Regions from separate parts of the Homo sapiens genome. Here region 2 is linked to region 1. Evidence: promoter capture Hi-C in human tissues and cell types (Jung and others, 2019). All regions are on one chromosome and are shown on one strand. The core of a region is centred on a gene start or on the middle of the fragment in contact, and the rest is flanking DNA. Distances in the headings are between cores, read along the strand shown. Region 1 holds the start of ADAM7 (ADAM metallopeptidase domain 7). Region 2 holds the start of ADAM7-AS2 (ADAM7 antisense RNA 2).

Region 1 (2,700 bases), core at 131-2,630:
ACATAGAAAAGGATATACCTACAAGTTGCCACTGAACCAGGAAGAAGTTAAGAAGGCTATTGTGGCAAGGGAGCTAAATAGTATATTTCAAGGGGAAGGATGTGGTCAACAGTGCTAAAAATTGTTAAAAGGGCAAATGAGATGAGGAAACAAAATATCTCTTGGATATAGAAATGGTAAAATCACTGGAGATATTGGCCATTTCAGTAGAATAATAAAGGCAGATGCTAGAACTGGGATGTGGTAGGATAAGTTTGAGGTAAGAAAATTGCAAGAAGTCCAGGTAATACTGTGTTAGAAATTTAGCTGTAAAGGAAATGGGAGAAAAAGTGATAGTAAGAGTATATGAGATATAGAATAGAGAGAATTTTTCAAAAAGGAGAGACTTTTGACTTGACTTAAAATGGTACCCCCGTTTTAAGCCAAGGGACTCCGATTTCTCTGCCTCCTTTCCAAGTTTGCTTATGTTTTCCCAATTTGTAAATATCAGTGTCAATTTCCCCACCTGCAAAGTGGGGATTATATTTTATAATGCTGCTATACATGGCTGCTAACTGGGAGCAAGTGAACTGTATGAGGACAATTCTGTTTTTCAACCACAATGGATGAATATTAATGTCAGATGGATTTTTCCTCTTATGTTTCCTTGTAGAAAAAGTCGTCCTTGGAGCAGAGGGTCTAAATATCAAAAGGAAGCTTCCAATTGACATAGATTCGTTCAGTTTGTGGAAATATTAGAGACATATAGATGCGGGTGAGAAATAGAATCCCAAATGAAGATAAAAGGATTCTATTGGCCATGGGATAACTCTACTAACATAACAAGAGAACACAGACATACAGATGGAATTGTCGAGGCCCTTTGCACATCTGTCCATTGGTATTCTTTTTTGTATTGCTTTGAAAGGGCTCTATATTATATGGACACTTACTCCCACCTTTTATTTATTTATTACATACATTTCTGTAGTTTGGATATTTTAATTTTAATATGTGATTTATGCCATATAAATTTTCAATATTTCTCATTTAACAAATGTTCCTTTTAGTTTTTATATGGCATACTCTGCATAGAAAGAATTTAACCATCTTCAACCAAAGCATATATAAATATTTTTCAACATTTTTTTCCTAAGACATTCTTGATTTTTTTCCACTTTTGAAGTTTTCAGATATCTGGAATCAAATTTATATTAGACATGACGTAGGAATCTATGTCCAGCCAACCTTCACCACCACCACCTCGGTAGTTGTCTTTAATTAGAACATGATGTTCAACCTCCAGGTTTTAGCCTCAAGCACCTAGCAAGTTGTGTAACTCCCTCAAGGAACACTTCCTTGTTGTGGATCAAAACTGCCCACCTATCTGTGAGGTGCTTCATCCCTGCAGTGGAAGTGAGGAGGAAGAAAGGTGAACTCCTTTTCTCAAGCACTTCTGCTCTCCTCTACCAGAATCACTCAGAATGCTTCCCGGGTGTATATTCTTGATGATTTTACTCATTCCTCAGGTTAAAGGTATGTCTTGCTCTTTTTATCAGGACTTTCTTATTATGCTGTGAGGTTGTGTCTCTTTAGTCACAAACTTTAAACTGTAAGTGATAAAAACATTAAACGTTGATGATTTTTCTGAGAGCTTCGACTAGATTACAGCTAATCATGAGACTCCATGCATCTGTGTAATGCCATATCACTCTTGAACATTCTGACCCACAGTGAGGAGGAGAAAGGAGTGGACAAGTACTGCATATCTGCAGCATGGCAGGCACTGTGCTGGCCATTAGCTGCTTTGTATGTTAAAGTGTTTAAAATTTGAAATTAATATCTCCACTTTACAGATAAGGAAAATGAGACTATTTACAGATCAGAGAAATTAAATATGCTACTGCTGGCCACACAATAAATTGGTAAAGGCTTGATTCAAATCAGAGCATATTCCAGAAACCCCATGCCCTCTCCTTTTTATTGCTCTTTAAGTATCACACCTTAATTAAGCAGGGCTCATCTCACAGATGACTATCAAGGTGATAGGACATGAATAGAAGATTATGGTTGGCACTGATGCAGGGCTACCCAAAATTCTTTAACAGGTAAAGGTCTTATACTTAACTACGAAAGGTAAGACTTTAAATGCAAACATCCCTGGAAGACCAAATTCAGTAATTTACATTCAAACAGGACAACAGTGCAGGCTTTGACAGGAGACAAAATCCAGAGGTTGGCATGAGGATAACAAAACGACAACTGCAGGCCAGACATGGTGGCTCATGCCTGTAATCCCAGCACTTTGGGAGGCTGAGGCAGGTGGATCACCTGAGGTCAGGAGTTTGAGACTAGCCTGGCCAACATGGTGAAACCCCGTCTCTACTAAAAATACAAAAATTAGCCAGGCATGGTGGTGTGCACTTGTAATCCCAGCTACTTGGGAGGCTGAGGTGGAAGAATCGCTTGAACCGGGGAGGCGGAGGTTGCAGTGAGCCGAGATCACGCCACTACACTCCAGCCTGGCTGACAGAGCGAGACTCTGTCTCAAAAAAATAAATAAATGAAACAAAAAATAAAATTACAGCTGCAGAACATGGCGAAAATATGGAGGAAATGGAGGGACACTGATTTCTTTGGCTCCTTTCCAAGTTTCCTTATATTCTCCTGATTTGTAAATATCAGTGTCAATTTCCTTGCCAGTAAAGTGGGAATAACATT
Region 2 (2,700 bases), core at 127-2,626, 73 kb after region 1:
TTAACATATCAGGTAGGAAGCGCAAAGCTAGGCAGCTGTCACCTCCCAATTCAGCCAGAGCATGGCTGAGATGTTTTTGTCCAAGGAAGAACTGTATTTGGGGATGGACTAAAACTTAAACACTCTTTGAAGCCCTCATTGGCCACTTCCTAGCAGACACTTTGGGATCCTTGAATCTTTCCCTTGTGTTATAGTGACCTCAATTTCTGGATGATCCCTTCTTAATAGAATAGACCTCTACTTGGGTGGTGCTTTAATTCAGCTTAGTGTGTTTGGGCAAGCTGTCTGTTGCTGTCTCTGCCATCACTGTGCATAAAAGGGAAGACGGTGGGTCAGGGGATGGCAGCGGCCAATCAAGAGATAACAGCCCTCTGCTAAAGCTTCCTTCCTTGCTTTAATCAAATGAAGAATGCACCAGATGAGGGTCACTTGGAACACATAGGGAAAGGTAGAATGCCTACAAAGAATCTTCCAGACCCCATACTACTGCATTTCCATGAAATGCACAAGGTCCATGGGAAGGATTATTTTACAAATGAGGAGGCTAGGGATTAAGAGGTCCTCAAACACACAGCCAAGAAATGGCAAAACAGGAATCACAGGCCTCAGACCAAAGCCACCATCCGAACAGTAACTCATTCCAGTTTTAAAAGTGACAGCATCACAACTGGCCACTGGATGACCTCAGAGTTCAATCCTGCTAAAAGTAGCTTTGGATTGAGACCATCCTGGCCAACAAAGTGAAATCCCGTCTCTACTAAAATACAAAAAATTAGCCAGGCATGGTGGCATGCACCTGTAGTCCCAGCTGCTCGGGAGGCTGAGGCAGGGGAATCCCTTGAATCCAGGAGGCAGAGGTTGCAGTGAGCTGAGACTGCACCACTGCACTCCAGCCTGGCGACAGGGCCAGACTTTGTCTCAAAAAAAAAAAAAAAGTAGCTTTGATGTTGAAAGGGGCTGGGTAGTAGAGATCAGTTAGTGGGCCCTCCCCAATCCTAGCCAAAAGGAGCACAGTATCCATTTCATTTTCACATCTTCAGGTTCTTCAAAGTCATGCCTAAAGTGGGGAAAGAATTAAAAGATCTACTGTCATTCTAACAGGATTCAAAGAGAGGAACCACTGGATGGAAAAATGTGAATTATTTTAGACAAAGCCTTTAGCATTTAAAATACTCCTCATCCCATAATTAATCTATTCCTTTCTCTCACGTTATCAGCATCAGTGCCTTGATATCAAAGTGTATGTCAATAAGTCACAGAAGGGAAGATAATAGTTGGAGTGACCTTCTGAGCTTCTAGGTTGTTCTACCCTCTCCCTTAAAGTCCTGGCTCAGGGGTGTGCCTCCTCAGGTCCACCAGGGAAAGCAGCTGTAGAGTAATCTGATCCTCTCCAAAATGTCCGTGACGCTGTCTCTGAAGAAGGACATTTCCCAAGTTTAAGCTATCATTACCTACTGCAGTCTTCTGTCTGGCTGAAGGAAGGAAGAAATAATCTCCTAAAGTGGCACATTGTGCAAATCTGATGCGTCAATCTTGAAGCACTGCCAAGCAATTCAGAAGAGAAATAAATCAATTCATTCCATCTCCTTAATGCTGCCGTGTCTAACAGGTTTCTATGCTGAAAATATCACCAGCTGGACACTGTGACACTTAATATTGCACCTTCAGAAATGAATTATCAGGCACAAGCCCAGTCTGATGTCATTCTCCTTCCCTGGTTCACTTGAATCTTCAAGAGAAAGAACACTCAGGCTCAGAAGGAACAATGATAAAATGGTAGAACAACATGACATCACCTCCGCATCACAAAACAGGCAAAGTTATAATCCTCTTCACTAGGATCCCTCTGTGACTCCTCTAAACAGAAACAATAACAAAAAAGCAGAGGCAGAGATTAAGCACACTTACAGATTTCAGAGGGGAAAAAACTTAGAAAAGTAAAAAACGAATGTGGACTGATGCCATGTAGGTTCTATTTACTTATCCATTAACGTCTTTGTTCAACATGTACTCATCGCATACTGGCTGTGTTAGAGGTATTATTCTAGGGACATGTAGATATGTAGGTGTACACAGCCCTGCCCTGAGAAAACCAAGCTTTGTGAGCAAGCAAAACAGGCTTCTAAATGGATGGTCATAAATTATGTGATGTCTGTATCAAAACATCTCATGTATCCTCTGAATATATATACCTACTCTGTACCCACAACAATTAAAAATTAAAAGTTTAAAAATAAAATACATTGCCACATATACATGAAAAATGAAATTCTGGAAAAAAATTAGAAAAATAAATTAATGTGATACATGGCACCAAAGAGGAAGGCAGTAGGTGAAATTGCCCAGGGGAATGAAGAGGAGGCTTCTAATGCTTGTTGGAATGGAGAAGGCGTCAGAGAGGTAACTTTTAATCAAGGTCTTAACAAAGGTACAAGGGTTTGCCAAGCAGAGAATTAACATTCCAGGGAGAAGCAGCGAGTCTAAGCATACCTGAGTTTGGTAGGTCTGATCACAGAAAGTAGGTTAGTGTAGTTATATCATGAGGTATATAGGAAAGCATGGTATGAGAGGACATTAAAGACAGGCTGCATTGGATATTCTATGCTGTGGTTATCTGTTGTTGTTTGAGACAAGGTCTTGCTACATGGCCCAGGCTGAAGAGCAGGGGCATGATCTCGGCTCACTGCAACATCTGCCTCC

Evidence for each region. The method cuts DNA at HindIII sites, captures the fragments that hold promoters and counts their contacts. A contact is called where the count stands out against the background at its distance.
Region 2: a fragment that was not itself captured here is called in contact with the fragment with the promoter of ADAM7 in region 1 in 2 of the 25 tissues and cell types used here (H1 embryonic stem cells and dorsolateral prefrontal cortex).

Annotation. Positions count from the first base shown.
Region 1 is chr8:24,439,646-24,442,345 of GRCh38, forward strand. It overlaps ADAM7 (ADAM metallopeptidase domain 7), which reads left to right and starts at 1,381. Exons shown (of 22, transcript NM_003817.4): 1 at 1,381-1,515. The coding sequence starts at 1,464. All of the region lies in intron 1 of ADAM7-AS1 (ADAM7, ADAMDEC1 and ADAM28 antisense RNA 1), which reads right to left. The HindIII fragment of the contact is 5,540 bases long and covers 1-2,700 here.
Region 2 is chr8:24,513,124-24,515,823 of GRCh38, forward strand. All of the region lies in intron 1 of ADAM7-AS1 (ADAM7, ADAMDEC1 and ADAM28 antisense RNA 1), which reads right to left. ADAM7-AS2 (ADAM7 antisense RNA 2) reads right to left here and starts at 1,745. Exons shown (of 5, transcript NR_125809.1): 1 at 1,663-1,745; 2 at 1,452-1,541. The HindIII fragment of the contact is 4,644 bases long and covers 1-2,700 here.